3 separate regions of the Homo sapiens genome follow, and all the other regions are linked to region 1. Evidence: promoter capture Hi-C in 16 types of primary human blood cells and fetal thymus (Javierre and others, 2016). All regions are on one chromosome and are shown on one strand. The core of a region is centred on a gene start or on the middle of the fragment in contact, and the rest is flanking DNA. Distances in the headings are between cores, read along the strand shown.

Region 1 (3,609 bases), core at 814-3,313:
AAATATTGTACAGAAATGACTTCATGTGTTTTCACAGCATCCACGTTAGTAGATAAAAGCAAGGATCCCCAAGCCTGGGGCAGTGGACTGGTACCAGTCAGTTGCCTCTCAGGAGCAGCAGGCGAGCAAGCATTACCACCTGAGCTCCACCTCCTGTCAGATCAACTGCGTCAGAGTCTCATAGGAGCATGAACCCTATTGTGCACTGCACATGCGAGGGATCTAGGTTGCACGCTCCTTATGAGAATCTAATACCTGAAGATCTGAGATGGAACGGTGTCTCCCCCACCCTGTGGAAAAATTGCCTTCCACAAAAGTGGTCCCTGGTGCCAAAAAAGTTGGGGACTACTGGATAAAAGGACCATATTATTCCCACTTTATAGATAAGAAAACTGCAGGAATAAGGAAGCAAGTATATTTAACATTTATTGAGACACTGCAATAGTTTAGGAGAGAGGTAATGGAAGCTTGAATGGAGCAAAAGTGGGAATAGAAAGAAAGGTAATAATCTGAAAGATAGAAGAGGTAAAATCTATATAATTTGGTAATTAATTGCACGTGGACCCCGAAGGCTAAAGATGAGTTGACAATGATTCCGATGCATTAATTTGAATCAGAAAACATCTTACGTTTGAGCTACCCTTGGGCTAGACATTAGGACATTTCTATTAGGGAGGTGGAAATGTGGGTCTAATGATCAGGACAGATATTGATTTAGAAATCAACCACAGAGATATGTTGGCTGAATCCTTATGAGAAGAAATCACCAAGGAATAATTAGAGTACAGAGAGAAAAAGGACAAAAAGAAAACCTTAAGGGAACACCTGTATTTTAATATAAAGTAGCGAGAGAATGAAGGAAAACGGGTCAGCCAGAGAAGAGGTAAGAGGTTAAGAGGTAAGAGGTAAGGTGATAAAAGTCAAGGAAGAAACGTTTCCAGAAAGACCGCCGAATACTGCTTAAAGGACACGTAAGTAATTTACTGTGGTCACAGAGATCACATCGAAGCTCCTAAACTCCGCACCTATTGAATGACCACACTAGAAAAACAATGTGGTTTTTCAAGAGGAACCGATGTGTCATTTTACCAATAGTTAACCTGGGACTCGGTCATCAAAATTCATTGCAAGTTCCAATCTCCTTCATTAAACCTTCTTTGCAGCCCACACAGCTCTCCTTACATTGAGCTTTTGAGGTAACTATTATTAATCATGTACGAGGACCCACGTGCTCCTTCATCCTTGTAGTACTGCGCGGTGGTTAAATGCAAGGGCTTCCGAATCAGAGGCTGGATGGATTCTAATACAGCAGTGTGACGAGCTCTTGTTAACCAACTTTTCTAAGCCTCTGTTTTCTCGTCTGCAAAAGGGGGATGGTGGTACTTACTCTATCAGAGTTGAGAAGAGTGCATGAGATGATTGCGAGTAAAAACCTTAGCGCAATGCCTTCAAAGGCTCAATTCATTTTGCTGTTACTGTGTTTTGGAATTTCCCTGAGGGTAGACGACTACTCCAACACTATTCCCTAACGCAGCAGCACTGACATGGGGACAGTGCGCCTCATTCAGCCAGCTCTCTGGGAAACAACTTTCTGAGGAAGAGAGATAAACAGCTGACGGGTTTCCCGGGACTCCGCAGCCCACCGAGACAGGGTTGACTGTAGGGCGCCGAGGAAAGGGGGAGGTGGGATCCCAGCAACCACTGGCGACCTCGGAGGACCGCAAGTCCCAGGGTGCAGCGCGCCTACCCCGGGTAGAAGCGAGAGACACGGCTCCGAGTCGGCTCGCGGGAGAGCCGGGGAAGAAGCAGTGCACACTGGGACTGGTAGTCCTCAGGGGGCAACTCCGCGGGTCGGAGGCGGGTCGAAGCGAGAGATCCCTTCCCAGTCCCGCCTTTTGTCCACGTCTCACTTCTCCTGGCCAATGCCCTCTCCAGTCGCCGGAGACAGCCCCTCTCCCATGAGGTCTCCATTGGTCCTGAGGCTCTACGGCTTCGGCCCTACCCGGAAGTAACGTTGGGGAGGCGGTTTCCTAGACTACGACACCGGAAAGCTGGGGGAGGCGCTCCGGGATACTGAGGGCGGAGGGCGGTGGCAGCGCTGGCGCTGGGGACCGGCTTGGTGGCTTCGGGAAACAGTTTGGCGCCGGCGGCCGTCCGTGTTACTCCGCATCCCGCCCCGTCTCGGCACGGCTAGCAGCCCCCTGGCCACCAGCGTCCAGCAATGTGTCTCACCGGCCGGGCGTAGCAGCTGCGCGTGCGCGGAACCGCGGGGCCATGAGCGAAGCCGGCGGCCGGGGCTGTGGGTCCCCGGTTCCCCAGCGAGCGCGATGGAGACTAGTGGCGGCGACGGCCGCGTTCTGCCTGGTGTCGGCCACCTCCGTGTGGACGGCGGGGGCCGAGCCCATGAGTAGGGAGGAGAAACAGAAGCTTGGGTAAGGGTGCTGGCAGCCTGGGGTGGGTTTCTCGGTGAGGCTGACAACAGGAGGGGTGCCTGTCATTGCGACCCGGTCGCGTAGTGGCCTCTCCTGTCGCGATTGGAACGGCTCTTCCCGCGCGAGAACCCTAGAGGGGTGGACAGGGTCCGGGGAGGTGGGAACCGCCGCCCGCGACCTGACCTCGGGGGAGCTGACGGGGTGTCGCCCTGGCCGCCGGTGACATGTGCAGGCTCCTTGAAGCCAGGCGCGGTGTGTCAACGCGGCTGCCATGTCAGTGGCCCAAGAAGGGGGCTACAGCCCGCATCGCTGCGCGCTGGAGTTCTGCGGTTGGCTGCCTGTCGACCGAAGCATGGTTAGCTTTCTCGCGCAAGTGAGCTTCCAACTGGGAAAATGTTGCTGATCTCACAGTAGTTAAGGAAATGATGTTTACACCTGTTACGGAAAAGGGGGCGTTCATTGGAACTTGAACTTTACACATTTTACTATTTCCTTGCAGTGTTTTCTTGCACTGTATTTTCATAATAGAATGTTTGGGGGGAAATTATTCAAAAGTCTCAAGTATACCTATTCAGTAGTTTTTATCCGTCTTGGAAGTGTGTTAAAATTATCAATTCTATTTACACCATTTAATTCAGAGTAATACATACACGAGGTCCTACACATGAATAAGAAAAAAGCGAAGAACCAGTAGGAAATGGGAGAAAGGCATGAACGGTTAAGCCAGAAGAGGAAATGGAAGTGGTAAATAAACATGAAAAGTTACTCAACCTCCATAAACGTAGGAGATGCAGATTAAAACGAGGAGCTAGCTGGTTTTTGCCCATCAGATTAGTAAATATAATACAAAACACAAGGATACGGTTCTGGTTAGTTAAGGAATAGAAAAAAAAGGCTTAGTGAGAGTGTAAATTGCTGTAACTTATTGGTAGTATCTACTAAAATTTAAATTGTGCACACTTTGATTCATCAGTTCTATTTCTGAGAATCTACCCTAAGAAAATAAAAGCACTCTTAATGCAGAGATAGATCCAGCCTGGGCAACAAGAGCGAAACTCTGTCTCGAAAAAAAAAAAAAAAAGTGCATTTTGAAAGAACAGCTCTTCCTTGGAGGAAATGGTTCAATAGGGTACGTTCATATTATGGAATAATATTGAGACATTAAGAAGAAGGAAGT
Region 2 (3,609 bases), core at 701-3,200, 4.9 Mb after region 1:
GGTACTGAAAAATACTGAATTAAACCAAGTACTTAAATTACTATCAAATATATTATAGGCTCCTTGTCTGCAAAAACTTTGTAATCTTAAAAGAGATAAAACTAACACATATATGGGCTAAACTGTCTTCAGTTGCTACACCCAAAAATAACTGACATAACTTTAACATAAAGTTTCCAAAATCAAGTCTTCAAATCTGTCAGTACCTTCACGAGTCAGCAGGTAAACTTGCAGCCTATCACCGTGCTCTAAGCTGAAAACCCACTCCTCCGCCTATCAATAGTCTACCACAAACTATGTCATCCCATTGTGACTCAGGTCCGCTGATTTTTACCTCACAGGTGCCTTACATGGGATTAACATGAAACTTCATCTGTGACTCAGTGTTAGGTCCTAAAATGGGGGGGGCAGGGTGGGAGAGGATAGATTAAGGAAACTGATTCACCTATGACTTACCTAACACTATACACTCACTTTGTCAGCATCCCTTTTGTCCATTTAGACGAAAACTCTAATTAATAGTCTTGTTTTTCAGGTTACTTTGTCAGTCTGATTTGCCAGACTACTTGAGGTTACAGTGACGGCCACCAAAGTGGCAGATTTTTGGCAGGGACCACCACACTGGAGAAACAGCAATCAGCTCAAGTTATCAAACACTGGGGAACATCAGTTCAGGAAAAATGAGTTACCCCATTTCGGTGAAAGTATTGGGTGAGGTCTCAAATCAATTCACTAAACTCAGCAATCCCTCGAAATGCCCACTCACAAAATTTCTCCTTCCTCTCTGCCCACCTGGGTGAGGAGGGAAAAAGACTGAAAGGTTAGATCCTCAGCTGGGGACTCTGGCCCGCGAGCGTTAAAGAAGGAAATGGAAGTGGTTTCTGTAGAAACATCCGCAGGGTAGAGGGAACCGAAATGAAACCGACCCTGCAGTAATTCGCTGTCCCCTCGTGAAGGCCTGCAGAAAAAGGCAGCTCTGACTCCCCTAAATTGATGCCCGATGTTGGGCAGAGCGCCCCAGCCCTGCCCGGGTCGCTCCACACGACCATCTTTCCACTCCTCCGGTCGGCGCTTCCTTCCCCGCTGCGGGTCAGGGTGGCCCTTGCACGGCGGCACAAGTCCAGAGGGGGCTGAGGAATACCCTTTAGCCAATCCCAGTACTTAGTACCCAGGCGGGCATGAGCTCCACCGAGGCGCGCGCCCGCCCCCGCGCGTTCCCTGGCTCGCGGCTGGGACTGTTACCTCCGCGGTCCTCACCTTCAGAGGAATGAGAGTCCCGCAGCCCTCTCCTGGTCATAACAGGAGACGGCTGTAGCGGAGGCTGCTCTGAGTGCTGCTGCTGAAGGCGGGTAGTCCTTCGCGTCTTCATTTCCTCGGTTTCCTGGGGTCGCGGCTGCCTCCGCTGCCTAGACCGAAGGTAGTACGCGCTTTCTCTCACTTCCTCTTTCGCAGAATCGGACCGGAACTCTTCTAGCCGGGTTCGTTTTCCCACCGGGGACCTTTCTTTGGCCACCAGGGGCTCGAAGTCGCCGTACACTTCTGGCGGCTCGTCCGAGAACCTCACTTCCCGCCGGCCCTGGCGCGACGGAGGAGTTCTGTACGCAGGCGCATCGCTGCTGCCGCCATTTTGAGGGGCGAGCCGGCCCCTTCCCTCTCGGATGGGGGCCCTGGGGGTGACGTACACACCCCATCCTTCCCGCACCGCCTCTGCCCGCCGCCCGTCGCCCGCCATAGTTGTTGACGTAGCTTTAGTCGATCGCGAAGATGGCTTTATGGACCCTAGGTTCTCCTGCCGGTGGTGGCGATGGCTTCTCGGGGGTGTTGGGCGGTGGCCGCTGTGGTCAGGGAGGCAGTTGCGAGTCGCTGGGGCCGCCGCCTGCGTCGTCGCTGCTGTGTAGCAAACCTGCCTCTGGGCCCATGGTGTGTCTTGAGGGCTGTGAGAGAGGCAGTGCCTGAGCTGGGTCAGCTGCTGTGGATCGCTCCCGCCTCCTGGCTGGAGGCACCAAAGAGGAGGAGAAGGGGGAGGAGGACGTCTCTGCCATCGCCCTTAAGTAAAGGAGGGGTGGGGGCGATAGAAGGATGGCAGGGCAACTTGCCTGTCCTAAGTCTAGCCGCTCGTGGCAAGTGTTGACTGCGTGTAGGAGACTCCCGTCCTATCTCCCAGTACCAAGTCTCGGGGAAAAGGAGTGCGACGAGGGTGGAGAAGACCCAAGTTTCGCTTCTCGGCCCCAGGCTGTTGCGCAGTTTCCCTGGAATCTTTTTGATCGACTGCTACGTTGACCATGTCCTTCCCAGTGTCCTTAGCAGGAGTGATGGCCAGAGAGAGAACTTTTGCACATGCCATGTTTTCGTGGCAAAAATTTTAGTTTCAAGTACCTTATGAGGGCGGTTACCTAGTTTTGAATTTTGTCACTTGTTGAGGGTGTACAAAATCCTATCTAGAGTCATACTCGTTGGATGTATTTTCTTTTCCGAAATGTACCCATAGGACACATAACCTTATTCCTGGTCTTTAATATTTCTCGGTTTTATACCAAGCAGCAGTGTTCGGAAGACCATGTTAGTGCTACATTGTGCACAGTGAGAAATGAACAAGTTTTTTAATTAAAGACAGCACTGTAATTTTAAGTTGTGATCCATTATTTTTACTTTTATTCTGGATGTGACGTGATACTCTACATTTGATTTAGAATGCTTTATGGACTTTATGGAATAAGAAAGCATGGTAAAATCTATTTGTTTCACCTCCTTATACAAATGTTTACAGATGTGGCTAATCTGCAAATACCTAACCAAATTTAGACACATTCAGAGAAGGTCGATTAAGTTCGTGTAAAGTCTGAATAATTATTGAAAGAAAGCTTAAATTGCCTTCAAATATACAACTGCTTGTAGGGCTTTGTATGATTGGAGTGAATAGATTTAAAAAATTGTAATTTGGATACCAGTTACAATGAGCGATTCTGAAAAGTTTGAAGGTGTTTGTTTATTCTTCCAAGTAATCACCTTAAAATGTTTTTGAGCAACTCATTTGTTGCTCAAACTTGGCACAAATTTCAACTACTTAAGTCGTAATGTGTACTATGTTTTTATTTTATTTTTATTTTTATTTTATTTTTTTTGAGACGGAGTCTTGCTCTGTCACCCAGGCTGGAGTCCAGTGGCGCGATCTCGGCTCACTGCAACCTCTGCCTCCCGGATTCACGCCATTCTCCTGCTTCAGCCTCCCCAGCAGCTGGGACTACAGGCGCATGCCGCCACGCCCGGCTAATTTTTTTGTATTTTTAGTAGAGACAGGGTTTCACCGTGTTAGCCAGGATGGTCTCGATCTCCTGACCTCGTGATCCGCCTCTCGGCCTCCCAAAGTGCTGGGATTACAGGCGTGAGCCACCCTGCCCGACTGTGTACTATGTTTTTACTAATATTGTCCATAAATTTGGCCACAGGCAGGAGGAATTACAGTTTTAGAGTGAGATAAGGTTTGGCCTGTTAGGAGCTTAGTTTACTGTAGCTTTATGTACAATATAGCTTTTAAAAACTGCAGTAACAAAAGAGAGACTTCTTTCTTTCTTTTCTGTCTCTCTTTCTTCTTTCTTCTTGTCTTTTAAG
Region 3 (3,609 bases), core at 283-2,782, 4.3 Mb after region 1:
TTTAAAAAAACCAAACCAGGACCAGAATGGGTTTATTCCAAGAACAGAAGTAATGCTCAAAACTAGGAGGTTTTGAAATAATGCATACTAATTTATCAATGTTAGCTATTATATAATTCATTAAATCCCAAATTTATTTTTGTTAATATAATTCATTAAAATAGAAACTGTTAATATAATTCCTTTCGAAGACTAGAGGAGAAAAGCAGATAATCTCCAAAGATGCCAAAAAAGCCGTTGATAATATTCAATTCTCACTTTAATAAAAATTCTAGAAACAAAGATATAAAAGTCCATGTTATATCTCCTTCAGTCTACTTGTCGGGTTCATCATCCATTATTACCCCACATGAAAGCTAACTTCTTTTTCCTTGCTCCTCCATTTGCTAGCTGTGTAGCCTTTGACAAGTTACTTAACCACTCTGTGCTGATTTCCTATGTGTAGTAAAATAAGAGTACCTACCTTATGTTGTAATGATCAAGTCCTCAATACATTATTCTTAATCACTTTTTAATTGCAAGAATTTGGTCATTAAACATCCCTTTGACTGGATTGCGAGCACCTTGACAGCAGGGACTAACAGTGGAACTTTCTGGAGACTTAAGGAATGTCTGTTGAATCCTGATGCAAGCTTTCTCACCTTCCTGTGTTCTCTCATTGCTTCCTCATCCTGTCCAGCCGTCCGTCCACCCGTCGCAAGCCTAACCCCAGTCAATAACCACTGTTTACAACACTTTCTTTGTACCCTTCTTATAGTGCTTATTACATTGTTTTGAATACTAAATGAATATATAGTGCGTCGTTGTGTTTAACATTTAGGACATAACCACTCATAATGTTACAGTTAAAAAAATAGTTTTGTGCATTCCTCTAGGGCCGAACTGTGCCGTACTTCTGGTTTCACTGTACAGTGTCTACAAAGCACAGTGTCAAAGACAGAGCTCGGGATGAGAACTGGGCTAAGGCGCGCCCCGAACTCCCCAAACCCTATTATTCAGGGCCCGGAGAGGTGCGGGCTCCGAAGGTGTGGAGAGCGAAACACGCAGAGCAGTGATTCCACTCATCAGTCACACAGTAAGACGGGACAGCCCCATCTCGCAGTTTTTCATTATTCAACACAGAGCCCAACGCGCACGCAACAGATCCGCGCGCAGGGCTGTTTGGAGGCGCTTGGGGCGCACAATCTGGGGCAGGCGGAACCTTAGTCCTCAGCCTCGCGTTTCCCGCGACTCCGCTCTCACCGCTACACTACCACACAAACGGCCTCCTTCCCCCACCCCCGGGGGCCCATCCCGGTGGCGGGCTCCGGAGCTCGGGACTGCTAATTTCAGCGAAACGATTAAAAGACGCCCCTACAGCTGACGGCACTTTCTCTCCTCCGGCAGGGAAGGACGTCCAGCGTAGCGTCGCCCGCGCTTCCCCGCCGGCGCAGAGCAGGCCTCACAGAATCGCACGCCGCTGGCACGCACGCCGCCCCGCCCCCACGGCCCAGCGCCAGCCGCGCCCCGCGCTCGCACGCATCCCGGCCTCACTGCCCCTCGACTCCTGTTCCGTTGGAGGGGCCTGAGGCGAGCCTGAGCGCGCTGTTGGCCGGAGGGAAGCCGGAGGAGACCGGGTCGACTGGGCAGAGCGGCAGAGGGTCGAGGAGCCTGCTCTGCACGCCCAGGGAGTAGAAGTGGGCAGGGAGCAGGGTCACGTGAGGGAGCGCGCCGCGACTGAGCTTGGGTCCGACTGGAGCTCAGGCTCGCGACCCAGACTGGTGGGCCAGGCCTCCAAGCCGGCCTTACACCCAATCCAAGGAGGACAGACCGGACACAGAGGGACGGAGCGAGCAAGGAGACATGGCTTCATCATTCCTGCCCGCGGGGGCCATCACCGGCGACAGCGGTGGAGAGCTGAGCTCAGGGGACGACTCCGGGGAGGTGGAGTTCCCCCATAGCCCTGAGATCGAGGAGACCAGTTGCCTGGCCGAGCTGTTTGAGAAGGCTGCCGCGCACCTGCAAGGCCTGATTCAGGTGGCCAGCAGGGAGCAGCTCTTGTACCTGTATGCCAGGTACAAACAGGTAAAGTAGCAGGGAGAGGGTGGATGGGGGAGAAAGACACGGAGCCTTCTTCCTCAACAACTGATAGCAAGCATGTATGGTTAATAGCTAGGTGTAATGAAGCTTGTGTATGTGTATTTTGTTTTGTTTTTTTTTTTTTGACCATCTGCTGGGGATGAGCATCATCCTGAACGTGGAAAAGATGTTTGCTTTCTTAGGAGTGATGTTTATTTAGCTGGACACTGGACATTGTTTTTGTGTTTTTTTCTCTGACTTATTCAGTGATCTTGCATTTTACCAGCCCAAGAACCTTTACAAAATGAGGATAAAATAAGATATATCATTCATTTACTCTTTCCCAGAGGGCCACATGGAAGTAAATACGGTAAAGTTAATAAAACTATATAGAGATCCAAAAAGATAATAGGATTGTAATAATGTGATGCAGGGCTGGGCGTGGTTGCTCACGGCTGTAATCCCAGCACTTTGGGAGGCCGAGGCGGGAGGATCACCTGAGGTCGGGAGTTGGAGACCAGCCTGACCAACATGGAGAAACCCCGTCTCTACTAAGTTAGCCGAGCGTGGTGGCGCATGCCTGTAATCCCAGCTACTCGGGAGGCTGAGGAGGCGGAGGTTGCGGTGAGCGAAGATTGTGCGCCATTGCACTCCAGCCTGGGCAACAAGAGCGAAGAAACTCCACCTCAAATAATAATAATAATAATAATGTGATGCAATGCAAAATGCAGTATTACAACTTTTATTGTGATTTTTATAAAATCCTAAATATCTTTGATTTATGTTTTCGTTGAGTATGTCTTCCTTTCTGTTTGATACAATCTAAAAATTTTAGAGCTATGAACACCAGAGGAAATAATGCCCTTCTTTTACAGTAAAGGAAACTGAAGGCCATAGAGAGTAGGCACCTTTCCTAGGGTCATACAAATACATCAGTCAGAACTGGATTGTAGCTCCTGACTCAGTCTAAGGCTGTGAACTTTACCTGGAAATAGGGAGGTGTATAGACACGTTTAATTTATAATTCAGGGTGACATTGGTTGGTACCAGAAGGAAAATAATTGCTTTATCATAAGCAACATATATTTGTTCAGCAGCTTTTATGTGCAAGACACTTGGGTATAATGCCTACAGAGAATGCAGAGAAGCAAAAACATCATGACACTTTGCAGAGAAGCAAAAACATCATGACACTCACTTTTTTTTTTTTTTTTTTTTTTTACAGAGGGTCTGGGTTTCACCACATTTCCCAGGCTGGTCTTGAACTCCTGAGCTCAGACGATCCACCTGCCCAAAGTGCTGGGATTACAGGCATGAGCCACTGCACCTGGCTGACACTTTTTTTTTTTTTTTTTTGAGATGGAGTTTTGCTCCTGTTGCCCAGGCTGGAGTGCAGTGGCTGGATCTTAGCTCACTGCAACCTCTACCTCCCCGGTTCAAGCGATTGTCCTGTCCCAGCCTCCCGAGTAGCTGGGATTACAGGTGCCTGCCGCCATGCCCAACTAATTTCTTGTATTTTTAGAAGAGACGGGGTTTCATCATGTTCGCCAG

The links. Contacts are between HindIII fragments. The CHiCAGO score rates a contact against its expected background, and 5 or more counts as called.
Region 2: a contact is called between the fragment with the promoter of TOR1AIP1 here and the fragment with the promoter of EDEM3 in region 1, in 2 of 17 cell types (activated CD4 T cells and non-activated CD4 T cells). The highest score is 9.1, in activated CD4 T cells.
Region 3: the fragment with the promoter of ACBD6 here is called in contact with the fragment with the promoter of EDEM3 in region 1 in 2 of 17 cell types (activated CD4 T cells and non-activated CD4 T cells); the score reaches 5.8 in activated CD4 T cells.

Annotation. Positions count from the first base shown.
Region 1 is chr1:184,753,312-184,756,920 of GRCh38, reverse strand. It overlaps EDEM3 (ER degradation enhancing alpha-mannosidase like protein 3), which reads left to right and starts at 2,063. Exons shown (of 20, transcript NM_025191.4): 1 at 2,063-2,432. The coding sequence starts at 2,275. It overlaps LOC105371649 (a long non-coding RNA gene), which reads right to left and starts at 1,747. Exons shown (of 3, transcript XR_922357.4): 1 at 1,388-1,747. RefSeq lists enhancers at 1,810-1,909, 2,380-2,479. The HindIII fragment of the contact is 1,960 bases long and covers 470-2,429 here.
Region 2 is chr1:179,880,626-179,884,234 of GRCh38, reverse strand. It overlaps TOR1AIP1 (torsin 1A interacting protein 1), which reads right to left and starts at 1,950. Exons shown (of 10, transcript NM_015602.4): 1 at 1,258-1,950. The coding sequence starts at 1,732. It overlaps LOC139427322, which reads right to left and starts at 1,919. Exons shown (of 1, transcript NM_001436163.1): 1 at 1,842-1,919. The coding sequence starts at 1,919. The coding sequence ends at 1,842. RefSeq lists enhancers at 984-1,083, 1,387-1,681, 1,244-2,003, 1,508-2,045, 2,024-2,133 and 1 more. The HindIII fragment of the contact is 5,266 bases long and covers 1-2,863 here.
Region 3 is chr1:180,500,500-180,504,108 of GRCh38, reverse strand. ACBD6 (acyl-CoA binding domain containing 6) reads left to right here and starts at 1,532. Exons shown (of 8, transcript NM_032360.4): 1 at 1,532-2,064. The coding sequence starts at 1,843. RefSeq lists a silencer at 1,465-1,564 and enhancers at 1,775-1,964, 1,486-1,986, 2,094-2,609, 2,610-3,125. The HindIII fragment of the contact is 1,534 bases long and covers 635-2,168 here.